Regions from separate parts of the Homo sapiens genome. Here all the other regions are linked to region 1. The links are contacts of gene promoters, found by promoter capture Hi-C in blood cells and fetal thymus (Javierre and others, 2016). All regions are on one chromosome and are shown on one strand. Each heading gives the region's core, a stretch centred on a gene start or on the middle of the fragment in contact. The rest is flanking DNA. Distances are from core to core; before and after follow the strand shown.

Evidence for each region. Contacts are between HindIII fragments. The CHiCAGO score rates a contact against its expected background, and 5 or more counts as called.
Region 2: a contact is called between a fragment that was not itself captured here and the fragment with the promoter of NHLH1 in region 1, in 1 of 17 cell types (erythroblasts). The highest score is 5.9, in erythroblasts.
Region 3: a fragment that was not itself captured here is called in contact with the fragment with the promoter of NHLH1 in region 1 in 6 of 17 cell types (total B cells, naive B cells, naive CD4 T cells and 3 more); the score reaches 8.4 in total B cells.
Region 4: a contact is called between a fragment that was not itself captured here and the fragment with the promoter of NHLH1 in region 1, in 1 of 17 cell types (erythroblasts). The highest score is 5.5, in erythroblasts.

What each region holds. Positions count from the first base shown.
Region 1 is chr1:160,365,082-160,368,673 of GRCh38, forward strand. It overlaps NHLH1 (nescient helix-loop-helix 1), which reads left to right and starts at 1,990. Exons shown (of 2, transcript NM_005598.4): 1 at 1,990-2,256. The HindIII fragment of the contact is 14,453 bases long and covers 1-3,592 here.
Region 2 is chr1:160,124,072-160,127,663 of GRCh38, forward strand. ATP1A2 (ATPase Na+/K+ transporting subunit alpha 2) reads left to right here. Exons shown (of 23, transcript NM_000702.4): 6 at 225-359; 7 at 1,065-1,182; 8 at 3,481-3,592. Among named protein-coding and RNA genes, the nearest start is that of ATP1A2, 10 kb to the left of the region's middle. RefSeq lists an enhancer at 126-1,325. The HindIII fragment of the contact is 1,803 bases long and covers 1,442-3,244 here.
Region 3 is chr1:160,585,426-160,589,017 of GRCh38, forward strand. No RefSeq gene overlaps it. Among named protein-coding and RNA genes, the nearest start is that of CD84, 7.7 kb to the left of the region's middle. The HindIII fragment of the contact is 1,373 bases long and covers 992-2,364 here.
Region 4 is chr1:160,216,917-160,220,508 of GRCh38, forward strand. It overlaps DCAF8 (DDB1 and CUL4 associated factor 8), which reads right to left. Exons shown (of 14, transcript NM_015726.4): 12 at 1,933-2,052; 13 at 1,408-1,524; 14 at 1-792. The coding sequence ends at 676. Among named protein-coding and RNA genes, the nearest start is that of PEA15-AS1, 9.8 kb to the left of the region's middle. The HindIII fragment of the contact is 347 bases long and covers 1,613-1,959 here.

The DNA of each region.
Region 1 (3,592 bases), core at 740-3,239:
CAATCTCCCCATGAGACTGTGTCTTCCCATTTCCCTATGTCTTTCCCATGTCTGTTACCCAATGACTCTGGTTTCTCATTTTTTTCTCTCCCTGAGTCTCGGTATCTTCCCGTGTCTTTCTCGTCGTTTCCCTCCGCTTCCCCTGTCTCTGTTCATCTCCCCTTCTTTCTGTATCTCTCATCTCCCCCATGGCACTCTCTCCTGAGTCTCTTGGTCTCCCAATTTCTTGGATGGGGTGGAGGGCAGGAGAGTGGAGGAGGTAGAATTGTTGTTGCTGGGGGCTCATTAGGTGGAGATTGGTTTTTAATCAGCACCATGGCAATGATGATGCAAGAACTGAGATGCCACCTGATCCCCTGCCCCCCAGCCCCCCTCCTCAAGCCTCCTTTCCCCTCCAGCTCAGCCCATCTGCTGGCGCCTGGGCACCTGTCTGGGCCTGCCCAGGTGGGAGTTGGCACCTCCCAGACTCAGGGATGGGGGCAGGTGGGGGAGCTTGGGGAGGAATTATGGGACCCCCTTAGGGAATGCTTCACCCTGGAGAAAGCCCAGAAAAGGTTGACCAGCAACAGGGAAATGGCAAGTCCCTCCAGCCTGAAGGTGGGATGTGCTCCTACTAAGCTCTAGGCCCACTACACATATTATCTCCCTTAATTTCCATGGCAACCTAAGAAGCAGCTATAATCAACCCCATTTTACAGGAAAAGAGGTCCAGGCTCAAAAGGTTGTTATTTGTCCAAGGTCACACAGCTGACAGAGCCTTTTTCACTGTACCACACTACCTCTGGAGTCCTCTCCAGTCATGGTTCTTTTGAATACTCTCAAAGGTTCAGAGAAGACATCCAACAGCTGAGTGGGGAGAGAACTTCAGACACTGAAACCCTCTATGCACTGTCTCTCTATGCACTCTGGTCCCTGTGCTGCCCCTCCTCAATCCTGCCACTCGGCAACACACACATACACACACACACTCACACTTACATTCACATTCACACACACTTGCATATACATGCTGGAGGCTGCTGAGCTATTGATGGGAGCTTAATCAGTGCCCATTTGCATATAATTTTGTGTCTGGTTTTCTTATTGCTGATTTGATGCCCTCAAAACACACTCAGAGCCTGCCTAGGCTGCCCTGCCCTCCTCTCCCAGTGTCCTTCCAATCCTGGTTCTTCCTGTCTTGGCACTCCTCCACTCCTCTCCTTTTAGCCCTTACCTCTTTCTTCCTAAGAGCCCTCTAATTCCCAGTGGGTCAGGTTGGGCTGGCCAGCCTAGAAAAACTCCTTGTGGGGTCTGTGTCCCAAATTTGATCCTGCTCCTCCCCTTGGTGATGGGTTAGGTAGGAAGATAGCGGGTGGGGTAAGAGGGTATGGGGGTGATTGAGTCCCAGGGTGATGAGGGTAGGGGCCTGAACAGTTGCTACAGGCAGGCTGGCAAGCAGTGGGTACCAGCTTTATGAAGGATAAGAGCTTGAGGGCCAGGACCCTAGGGTCCTCTTCTGCATTTTAGTGCTACCCACTTGCTCTTTTCTCGGTTTCCCTGTTAGTACCTTGAAGAGTCTCCCTCTCAGGAAAAAAGAGACACCAGGAAGGGGCTGTCCAAGTCACGCTGGGACTCCGAATGGGGCCATGGCACTTAACCATAGCTTGCTGGGAGCCTCTGCCCTGCTGCCTCTGGTGTGGGAGACTGAGGGGGTTCATCTGTGGTCCTGCCCTGGCTCTCGCCCCAGCCCCACCCCTTCCCCAGCTCTCCATTTCTTGCTTATGAAATATGCATGGAGAACAGATGTCCCTGCTCCCCCGCTCCCCGCCCCCACCCAGGGCCAGCCCCCGCCCCCAGCTCCCGAGGGGTTCCCAGATCCCTCTGCCAATGGCTGCCTGGCCTGGCTGTTTAATATTGATGAGGGGGGGGTGGGCCTGGGCCAGCCAATGGAGAGCTGGGGGTGTGTGTGTGTATCTCCATATATATACATAGGGCTGGGCCAGCTCAGGTGTGTGTGTCTGAGGGTGTGTGTGTGAGTGTGGCTGGCCCCAGTACCTGGCCAAGCCCACCACTTCCACCTGGGCCCTACACCCCCACAATGTGTACCCCTCTTATCTGCCCTGGAGCCTGTACAGCCATGCCACGCTACCCCTGAGAGTCTAGAAAGCTGGTCACTAACTTTGCAGACGGATGAGCCTTGAGCACCCAGAGGAGACTGGGGCTGTCAACGCTGCCCCTTGTCCTGCCGGCTTGGATCCCCTGACAGGGTCCTTCTAGGTAAAGGGGAAACCATGGGCGGGGAGGGATGGGCGTGTCCCTCCCATTCTCTGGCTCAAGCCCCTTCCTAGAGCCTCCCTCTAGTTCTCTCCCTTGTGCGCTGTGTCTCTCCCTGTCTCCGCGTGTCCCTCTTCTCCACTCCTCCCCTTCGACTCTTTGTGCCTATCTATCCTCAGTTGGGTTAGGGCTGGCAGAAGTGGGGTGGGAAGTCCTGTCCTGCAGGCTTGGAATTGCTGCTCCCCTGATCCTTGGACCCTGGAACTTTGAGACCAGAAGTGGATTTGGGGGTGAGGACTTGATGGGTAAATAGAAGCTGCTGCCGGGACTGGAACTGGGGAGGACAATGGGGCCAGGTGGAGATGAGACTGGGGCCAGATGGGGAGCACGGAGAGGGGAAGGAAGGGCATGGCAAAGTGATGAGGGATGAAGGAACATAGGGACCGGGCAGAGAGAATTAGCCTGTGATAGATGTGATAAATGTGTTGGGAACTCCGCAGCTGAACTCCTGCTCCCAGCCCCAGCATGGGGGGTGGGGAGTTGGGGGCACTAAACATGTACTGGGAGGTGCTGACTTTGGGGCCTCCCACACTATTGCCATCCCCCCATAGTTCATTTGAACCCCAGAATATGGAATGTGTTCTCAATTTCAGCACTAACCACCTTCTGTTTCCTGTTAAGATTGTGTGTGTACTTGTCATCAGATGTGGATGACTTTGCATCCCTCCAGAGCTTCATAGCTGTTTGTTGGCTTGACTTGAACCTATCTTCTGTGTGGTGGGGTGGGGCAAGGCTTGGGAGGATCCTAACCCCTTTGAGAGTATCTATCAGACAGGAAAGCCAGGGCTGGGGAGGAAGGGGAGATAGTGATGGTGCAGGCACCTTGGTGCTTCTGTTTCTAATCATTCTTAGTTGAGCTGATGGTGAGTGGCCCACTGTTCCCCTTTAACACTGCACACAAGCAAAGCCCTTTCCCCAGCTTTTCCCAGGCCATGTTTGTGCTGCCTTGCCCTGATCTCCTCTGGTCCTAGGACAAGCAAACCTTAGCTGAGTCCCATAAGGGTAGCTCCAAAAATCTGTCTGTGTCCTCTGCAGGCCGTGTCTGAACCTTCCTTGGGCTATGGGAGAGTATGGGGGTAGAAGGTTGATTATGTTCCCTTTCCCCAATCTTCCTTGCCCAGCCTCCAAAAGGGCCAGGGAATGGCAAGGGCTGAAAATTTCGAAGACAGAGGTGGAGGAAGAGGCTGGTTGTGCACAGTGGGGTGGTGGTGAGAAGAGATATCTTCCCCTGGTTTTAGTGGACAGGATCTCATATCTACAATGGTTCTGCTGGGAAGGT
Region 2 (3,592 bases), core at 1,093-3,592, 240 kb before region 1:
TGGGCTCTGGGCTAGGCTGTAAGGTTTTGGCAAGAGTCCAGCTCATCTTTTGTCAGCTCCCAGGCTCTAAGATAGAGATGGACAGAAAAGATCCTCCAGCTTTCCATGCCAGCACCTAATTGTTTATGGGGCTTCTCCTTCTGCTTGACGGTGTGGGAGACCAGCAGGAGAAGAAGGCAGGGGCAGAGACAAGCATTTCATGAGCTGCCTGTGGCTCCCCACAGCAAGCCCTTGTGATCCGGGAGGGAGAGAAGATGCAGATCAACGCAGAGGAAGTGGTGGTGGGAGACCTGGTGGAGGTGAAGGGTGGAGACCGCGTCCCTGCTGACCTCCGGATCATCTCTTCTCATGGCTGTAAGGTGAGGAGGTCATACCAGAGCAAGCAGTTGAGTCTAAGGAGAAGGCTGTGTGCAGAGCTGAGAGGGGCCCAGTGAGGTTTAAAGGTGGAGAGACCCAGGTCCAAATGTCAACACCATGCCTATGCCCCTGCTAAACCTTCTCTCAGTGTGGGGTGCTTGTGCAGTGCCTCCTTGCATCTGTGTGTTATGAATGCTCTATGCCCCAGGTATTTCTTTGTTGTCCACTTTTTAGCAATCATGTATTGAATACCAATTATGTGTCAGCTGCTTTATATATGTTCGATGTGCTATCTGATGTAATTCTGAAAGAGTGGTGTAATCATGCAGGGCTGCTGAATGTGGCCACACACGTTGCATCCTGAATGACCCCAGGAGGTGCATTTTCATAACTACAGTGTTAGTGTCTCCCCCTGTGGTTGTGCAAGGCAGAGATTCTGTTTACATTCACCATTTTACAGTTGAGTACATGGAGGCTCTCTTGGTTAAGCAAGTAACCCGAGGTCACATAAGAAGTCAGGAGGAGTCAGAATTCCAAACCAGGGCAGGGGCAATAGATGAGTAATGCCATAAATATGTGATGAGGGCAAGTGTGACTTTGTTCCTCGTGTCATGAAGATTGAGTGTGGTTGGAGGTGGTTCAGGAGACAGCTGTGTGCATACAAGTGGCTCTGCCAGTCTGATGACTATGCACTCCTTCCTCCTCAGGTGGATAACTCATCCTTAACAGGAGAGTCGGAGCCCCAGACCCGCTCCCCCGAGTTCACCCATGAGAACCCCCTGGAGACCCGCAATATCTGTTTCTTCTCCACCAACTGTGTTGAAGGTGAGAAGCCAGGCTGCCCCCTGTAGGAAAGAGTCTGAATCCTGAATCCATAGTCAGGATGAAGGGCTCTGGTAGTACTTACCTGGCAAAAGCTCTGCCATTGGTGGGGCAATTGAGGGGTCAGGGGGCCCTGAATATTATGGAAACACCCTCCACAGAGCAGGGTATTGACTGAGGGCAGCCTGACTCCATGGGAAATGTATCTCCCTTCCCCAGGGAGATCTCTGTTCTGTCCACCCCAAGACTGAGTGGATTTCAAAGCTTTCAGGTATTGGGTTAAGAACCCCTTACGCATGCGCACACACAGATGCACATACGCTCAGAACCAACCTGGATTCTTAGGAGTCTTTGGATTTGATTGATGCTTCTATTCCTTGTGGTTCTGGGCCTCGCTGCCCCCTTCGATAACCTTTGCTTTGGCCAGGGCCCCAGGGTCTGGGAGGGCCAAGAAGGCATTCTGGCCAGGTGAACACTTGGGGCCTACTTCAGGCTGCTTCTAACCTTTGTTACATCAAAAGACATGTTTCACCATGCACAGACTACCCAGTTTGCCCCATCCCTGTTCTGGGTTCTAGAGATAAACAAAGGTCAATAAGAACTCCCAGAGCTGCCATCACTTAATGGCAGGGGTCCAAGCACAACTGAAACCTGTGCCCTCTGTGGTAAAGCCAGTGAGCAGAGTCAGGGCTGCATCAGAGAAGGAGTAGGAGGGAAGAGACAGAAAGAGGCCTCACTAGACCAGTGGCCTCTGAAAATAGGGCAAAGGAGGCCTCATATCCCAATCCACACTTCCCCTGTCCATTACTCATTTCTCCTCAGTGTATTATGTTTCTCTGTGGTTTTTTTCCCTTCTTCGACAAGTTGGAATTCCACTGCTTGGAATCCATGAGGGATTGGTTCCAGGACCCCCTTCGTTACCAAAATCTAAGGATCCTCAAAGGCCCTGATATGAAATCGCATAATATTTGCATATAATCTGCGCACATCCTCCCATATACTTTGAATCAACTCTAGATTACTTATAATACCGAGTGCAATGTAATTTTTATACTGTTTTGTTTTTAAATTTGTATTATTTTTATTGTTGTATTGTTATTTTTATTTAGCTCCAAATATTTTCGATCTGAGGTTGGTTGAATCTATGGACATGGAATCTGTGAATATGGAGGGCCAACTGTACAAATAAAAATCACCACACATTACATTTCCTAAGTTTGTTTTTTGTTTTGCTTTTGAGACAAGATCTTGCTTTGTCACCCAGACTGGAGTGCAGTGGTGCAATCACAGCTCACTGCAGCCTTGACCTCCCAGGCTCAAGCGATCTCCCACCTCAGCCTCCAGAGTATTTGGGACTACAGGCGCGTGATACCACACCCAGCTAATATATATATATGTATATTAGAGATGGGGTCTCACTATGTTACCCAGGCTGGCCTCAAACTCCTGGGCTCAAGTGATCCTCCTGCCTCAGCCTCCCAAAGTGCTGGGATTACAGGCATGAGCCACCGAGCCTGGCCAAATTTCCTAAATTTTTAATGTACTGAGATTTTGAAATTTACATTTCCCACAATTGATTTATTCAGAAATGCCTAGTAATACATTCCTATTGCTTACTCTGCAATTGGCTTTGAAAAGAGGAAAGGAAATAAATGAGATATTTGTTGAGCACCCGCTATGTTCCAGGCACTGGCCTAAGTATATTAAAGCACAATCTCATCTAAATATTAAAACAGCACCGAGATAGGAATTCAAATAAGGATTCAAACCCAAATTTGGCTGGCTCCAATGTGCATGCTTTTTTCAATACACCACCCTTCCTTCCCAGAAGACCCCTGTAATGTCACACAAGGGTTAGCAATTGCCTGGCTTCCTCTATAGAGATTCATGCCTAATGTTGAGAAAGAAAATCTTAAGACTGGATGGAAAATCCATAATGAGTGCTTTACTTTGTGTTCATAATATACTTTTGGATGGTATCAAGTATGGGAATGATTTTACCAAAATGCCACAGGCAATTTTTATTTATTGAATCTTGTCTATTTGAACTTTGAGATTATTTGCAAGCTTCTCCCCAGGCTCGAGTACAAGAGAAAATAATTTGCTGTTGTATTGATTCAAGGATTGGCGATCTATCCAGGGAAAGGAAGGCCAAGTGGGGACAACCTACTGAATGTGGCCTCCAGATCTGCGGCTTTGGCTCACCTATCCTGTGATGATTTTCCTTGCTCAGGAAATAGGATGGGACTGCAGTCCCTGGGAGCCACAAGGCACCCAACCTGATGCCCCACCATGTTGCAGGCACTGCCAGGGGCATTGTGATTGCCACAGGAGACCGGACGGTGATGGGCCGCATAGCTACTCTCGCCTCAGGCCTGGAGGTTGGGCGGACACCCATAGCAATGGAGATTGA
Region 3 (3,592 bases), core at 428-2,927, 220 kb after region 1:
TTACATTTTTAGTTTTTCTTTTTAAATTTCATTTTTCATAAATGTTTGAAGTCTGAGATTGAAGAGATTGGTATTTCTGGACAGAAATAAAAACCCAGAAAGGAACCAAATGAAAGTTCTAAATTGGTTCCAGCATTTAGGTTTGCAACAAGAAAACATATACTAGTTTTATTCTTGTTCTTTAACTTTTCCATCTGGAAACACTTAAGATTTTCCCTTTATCACAGAAATTCAAGATTTTACAAGGATGTGTCCTGGTGTGTTTGCATGGCATATTTCTGGCTGGAATCAGTTGTATTTTCAGTCTGATGGTTCAAATCTTTCTTTATCAAAGGGAATTTTTCTTCTGTGTCTTTGATTATGGCTTCCTTTTTGGCCTTTCTACTTGCTCTTCCTAAAAGTCCTCCTAAATATTTAAAGCTATCCTCTATATTGCTGAATTAATATCTCCTGATTTTCTCTTTGTCTTCTTGCTTTACATACTGATAGAGTTCCTTATAGACACCCTATAGAATGTCTTCCAAACATGGGTTCTCAGCTATGTTTACAGTTTTCAGCTATTTGCTTGAGTTTTAAACTTTGGTAATACGCTTTCATTTCCAAGTCTTTTCATAGTCTTCAGTTGTACCTGATTCATAATTATCTTTAATTCCATGTTGAAAAATTCTCTATACTAGATAAAGGGTAAATTAAAAAACAAAACATAAGAATAAAACTCTGGAAAACAACTATAACTGAAAGAAAAGAGAAGAAAGAAAGAATTATTAAAGCAATAGGAGGAAAACAGGAGAGTTGATGTCATGAAAGCAAAACAACGAAGGGTTTGAATAAGAGAAATATGAAAACATTTTTAATTCTGCAAATAATTAAAAGGGAAATGAAAGAGTACATGCAATTTTTGTAGTGTCAAGCAAAGTTTAGGCTCTGAACAAGCAATACAAAAAACCAAATAGCATAAAAAGACTCCAAAAACGTTTGCCTCTGTGACCAAAGCTTTGAGCTTTACAATAAAACCATCAGGATGAATAAGCTAACTACTCTGATTTGATCACTATAAATTATATATATCAAGACATCACTATGTAACTCATGAATATGTACAATTATTATTTGTCAATTTAAAAAATTAATTAAATCTTTAAAAAAGAAGATTACACACTCTCAAGTGTTGGAGTCACAAAACTTGAGTTTCAAATTCAGTTTTCCTACTTATTGAGTGGAATACTTGTATTAATATCAGGTGGTCAAGTTGAATACTTGTCTCAATATCAGGTGGTCAAGTTGAATAACCTGTGAATTCTTTTTTTTTTTTTTTTTTTGACAGAGTTTTCGCTCTTGTTGCCCAATGCAATGGCACAGTCTCGGCTCGCTGCAACCTCTGCCTCCCAGGTTCAAGTGATTCTCCTGCCTCAGCCACTCGAGTAGCTGGGATTACAGGTGCACACCACCATGCCCAGCTGATTTGTGTATTTTTAGTAGAGACAGGGTTTCACCATATTGGCCAGGATGGTCTTGAACTCCTGACCTCAGGTGATCCACCTGCCTCGGCCTCCCAAAGTGCTGGGATTACAGGCATGAGCCACCCCGCCCGGCCTGATTTCTTATCTAAAGTTTATTTAGGATAATTGAATGGGAAAACAAATTTAAACTAACTAATACAGGAATCATCAAAATACAGCCTTTCTGCTGCCTGTTTCTGAATGTAAAGTTTTGTTTGTTTGTTTGTTTTTGAGACCGAGTCTCACTCTGTAGCTCAGGCTGGAGTGCAGTGGCGTGATCTCGACTCACTGCAACCTCTGCCTCCTGAGTTCAAGCGATTCTCCTGTTTCAGCCACCCGAGTAGCTGGAATTACAGGCATGCACCACCACACCCAGCTAATTTTTGTATTTTTAGTAGTGACAGAGTTTCACCATGTTGTCCAGGCTGGTCTGGAACTCCTGACCTCAGGTGATCCACCCACCTCGGCATCCCAAAGTGCTGGGATCACAGGCGTGAGCCACCGCGCCCAGCGTATAAATGTAAAGTTTTATCGGAACATTAAAAAAAAAACAAAAAACAAAACCGAAAAAACAAAAAAAAACCTGTCATGAGAAAAGTGAAGGGAGGAAACCACAGTTTAGATGAGAACCAATATAAAGTTATAAGATGGCACTGTGATGCAAGTAAATGAAGGCTTGGGAGAAAAGGGGAAGGATCACTGCCCCCACCCCTCAACTGTGCCACCCTGATCAGGTTTCTTAACTGTTCTAAGTGTTGTTTTCCTCATCCGTAAAATAAGAATTGCCATATTAGCGTGTTAAGTTTGTTTTGAGTATTAAATGAGAATGTCTGAAAACACTTAGCAAAGTGCTTGGCACATTATAAGCTTTTAATAAATGTTCATTCTTAATAGTATTATCACTAATAGGTTAATTATAATACACCATTTGGACATTAATGATCTGGAAAACTATCCACCAGAGGGCAACAGATTGTAAAAGACTGGGCACGGAACAATAAGACAGACAAAATTATGATTTATTGAGTACTAGGTTTGTTTCCAGGGCTATGTTCAACACTTCCATATGACAAACAGTGAAAGAATTGGGATTCATTGGCCCGGAAAAGAGAAAACCTAGTGAGGGGGCTGTGATTAAGGCATCATGTGGATCAGTGTGATAATTACAGCCAGGTATTTGAAATGCTGGTGTTTGGTGTCAAGGGGTCTCCATGGACAGAACTAGTAAACCATAAATGTTGCTCCAGGAAAGTAGAGCATTTCAACCTACAGATTTCCCCCTAACAATTGTCATCCCGGAATCAACAGTTAAAGCCAAGACTGGATGGACCTTTGACATATATGTTATTGTGGGAATTTCTCATTGTGTAGTTGAATCTTGAATGTCCAAAAACAAACACGGTCTCGCTCTGTTGTTCAGGCTGGAGTGCACTGGCATGATCTCGGCTCACTGGAACCTCTGCCTCCTGATTCAGGCGATTCTCCTGCCTCAGCTTCCTGAGTAGCTGGGATTACAGATGTGCACCACCACATCCGGCTAATTTTTGCATTGTTAGTAGAGATGGGGTTTCGCCGTGTTGGCCAGGCTAGTCCTGAACTCCTGATCTCAGGTGATCTGCCCACCTCGGCCTCCTAAAGTGTTGGGATTACAGGCATGAGCCACTGCGCCCAGCCAAAATGTTTTCATTCTTATGCAGTTTTCTCAACTACCTAGTGTATGGGGTCATGAACTTAGAGGTTATTTATCTAATGGATTGTGCTTTTCTAGTTGACTCAAAAACACGATCAGCAGCAGCATGTGAGTAACCTAACATGATAAATATCAGGACGGGAAGGGCTAAATTTTGTGACAATTTTGGTATTCTCAACATGCAAGCTGAATTGAAGGACCTAATTACTTTCTCTGTATCAGCATAAGGAAATCTATTTTGGGGTAATGTAAAACAAAGAAGCTTGGATTTAACTGTTGGTCAGAAAGACCATGAAATGTCAGCTAAGGCTTACTGGCATTTTCTCCAATTACTTAGGGAAAACAATGAAAAGAACAGCAAGTCCCCTACACACACACACACACACACACACACACACACACA
Region 4 (3,592 bases), core at 536-3,035, 150 kb before region 1:
CCTGACCTATTTAGGGGGTGATGGGATGAAGAGAAGAGAGTGAAGGATATGTAATCAAGTGCAAAATACTGTGGTAAGTACAGAGAATGAATAAGGTGGAAAGGAAAGTGAAGAGTGTGGGATGGTTAGGGGCTTTAAGGACTTCCCAGGAAAATAGGATTCTGGGATGGGGTTGCTGGGGGTGGGGGGGGAGCCAACTGTCATAAACTTTTAAAAAACAAAGGAAGAAAAGGTCAAAAACCTAAACCAAAGAGAGAGTGGCACTCCTACCCTCCACTCTGGCCCCTTGGTACTGAATAGCCAGTTGTTCCCCCCACCCCTCCCCCAGCCCAAGAAACAAGGGAGATTAAAGAAAAAGAAACCCCATTCCCTATCCCAAACCAGTTAACAAAATAGGCTTCCCTCTCCTCTCAAAAAGAGGCTTTGGGGAGAGGCCATTTCTGCCGAGTCCTATGCACCTCTCCATAGAGCCCCATTCCAGGGCTCAACTCCCATTCCTAGGTACTCTTTGTTGGTTCACTCCTCTGGTTTGTCCTTCTCCTGGGATGTCTTTCTTTTATCTAAAGCAAAAAGTCCAAAGTGCGTTTCTGCTGAATGTAGGGCCTGGGACAGGAAAGGGTTGCCCAGGCAGGATCAGGTTGGCAGCCCCAGCCTGCCCCACCTAGGTATGAGGCCTCAAGATGGCATGCACTGCACCCGGTCAGGGCCCTCCTCCTCGTCCGATGTGTCTGAGGAGCTGGGAGACTCATCAGAGTCCGCGTCTGTGGCCCCAACCCCAGGTTCTCGCCAGCGCTGTGGATGGGAAAGGCTTGTTAGTAACTTCCCTGGATGGAACAAGGACAAGCCTGTTAGGTCTTAGCCAGAATTTAGATGCTTTAGGCCAGAGATCAGCAGAATTTTTCTTAAAGGGCCAGAGAGTAAATACTTTAGACTTGTGGTCTATATGGTCTTTATTGCAACTATTCAACTCATTGTAGCGTGAAGGCCGCCACAGACAATACACAGAATGGGTATGGCTGCAAGCCAATGAAACTTTATTTACAAAAACCAGCAGCAGGCCAACTGCCAGTTTGCCAACCCCTGAACTAGGCCTCTTTTGGCATAAGAGGAAAAATAGAAGGGTCACACTGAGACTTGTTATTTCTTCTCAATTCCCTCCTCCACCCTCCAGCTTTTGCCTTTATGAAGATAGCATTACACATGGACGGCAATGGACAAAAGTAGATACCACCCTTTTCTGCTGATGTCTCTTCCAAGGCTATATCAGGGATCTGATGGGGACAGAGGACAGTGGATAGGAAATCCGACCAAGATCACCTGATTACTGCTTGAAGTCACTACTCTGGAACTTTTTAGCCCTCTTAAAAGGGTCACTCCCTTGGGAATTCATTTCCAACCCTAGCTTACCCGGTGATGGCGTCTCTGTCTCAGGTGATGCATAAGGAACCACAGCATGTGACTATCAAACAGGTCAGTTTGGTGCAAGCTATCTTCATCCCGCTCCCGCTTGTTCTTCTTAATCACCTGGAACCCAAAAAGGTTGGGAAGAGGGGGCAGCAATGAAGAGGAACCCGGGACCTGATCAAGAAGGCTGATCTCCTATCCCAATAAAAGCTTCCCTTAAGTTGAAGTGGAGCTACATTAGATTAGGAAATGATGCCCTAGGTTCAGCTGCTGAAAAGGTAGCAGGCTTTAATACAGAATAATTCTTAAAGATGCTCCTTATCCCCATCCTATTACAAATTAGTGCCACTTCACAGCTGCCCCCTGGAGCAGGACTATTCCTACAGAGGAAATTACAGGAATGTGGGGGAGGGTGTTAGAGCAGTGCCTTTAAAGAACTGGGCAGCAAGTTATTCCTCCCTATGACAATAAGAATCAACAGTATGTGGATAAGCAGAAAGAAAATAACTTCTGCAGTCAGCCACTTACATCTTTTAACCCTGTCAGCTCAGTGGAAGCTTCAGCTGTGGGTGCCCAGATCTTCACATCATGGTCTAGGCCACTGGTTGCCAGCACAGGCAGGTGAGGGTGGGGCTCAAGACAGTTTACCTGGTCAGGAAGAAAGGAAAACACAGACTCAGCAGTGTGTGGGAGTAGGGTTTAAAAACCACTACTCACCTTGAGCCAAATAACTGCCCTTGATCAGGGCTGAGGCAGCTGCTGGGGAAGGGAGGCCCACCCATCCTGAGCCTAAGCCAAAGGGCACTGAGGGTAGAGAAACCAGACACAGACTGGGTATAAGACCAGGCACATCAATCATTTCCTATGTATAGGTCGGGGGTGGCTTCATCCCCAGATATGGCCCTAGGGGTGGGTGAGTGGACTGCCCAAGCTTACTGCTGGCTTCGTAAGAAGACAATGAAATCCAGATGACCTCATTCACTCCAGATTCCAAAGCTCCAACTTGCCCAAGGCTGGAAAAAACCATCTCAGTGGCTTTCACCAAGTGGCAAATAAATTTTAAAAAATGAAGAAAGCAGCAGCTGCCAATGAACCCCCAGAGAAGAGTCGGAGAACTATATTCATTTGGCAGTGTTTACTAGAACTGGAGGAAGGCACAGGCTGAGAAGAGGAGGCTGAGTTGCAGGGAGTGGTGGGAGTGATGGAGGCTCATGTCTGCTTGAGAGAACCTTGCACATCCCAGGGGGAACATCCTACTACTTGCCCTGAGCACAACAGGCTCAGCTATAAGGCAGCACATTAAAACCAAGCAGCTTCTTGGGGCTCCCAAAGCCTCAATCTCAGCCACCCTCTGGGTAAATTCACTGAACAAGGCAAAAGAAATAAACTCCAGCAGGCAGGCCTTCTAGCTTAGGCAGCTTCCTTCTGTCCGAAAGGCACCCAATGCCCCCTGCTGTCTGACTTGGAAACATGAGCTTCCCTAAGGGAAGGGCAGGGAAGTTCCTACCCCATCCAGAAGAGTTAGTTCCAGATCTAGCTGCTAAAGCATTTTGAGTCTTTTAGTGAAAAGAGGAACACATAGGAAAGGCACCCTGCCTTGCAGCTGGACCTATAGTCCAAGAAAACAACTTCTTTTAGTTCTCTCTGGACCAACCACCTCCGCTGCCTCACCTGCACAGGCAGAGAACAGCTGAGGAGAAGTCAAGGGCAGGCATGGAAAATAGAGCTGACCTACAGACTTCCCACTTACTTTGACTTCCATCTTACAAATAAACAAATGCTCAGAAAAGACTGAAGCTAAGACTGAGCTTATGAATAAAACAGAAACCCCGTTCTTTATCTCCTCCTCCCATTCCACATATCAGCCTATTGTGAAGTTTATCTTTGGGCTCTTTTAGGCAGTGCAGTTAAAGTCCAATGCCTGGAATAGTATCTATCTATAGTAATGGACAACTTACATATACAAACCTGCACTTTTTCATCTATCTCCTAATAAGCCCTTGTTACAGACCTGTACTCTGAGCTAGCTCTGCTTGAATAAGTCAGGAAAATAAAAAAACACAGGGGAACAATTCCTTGGAACTTAAGACTAAGGAAAAAGCCAGTGGCAAGAGGAACAAGAGAATAACATACAGTACCTGAATTGGAGCCTGCGGGGGGAGCCGACAGAGAACTTCTGGGCCAGAGT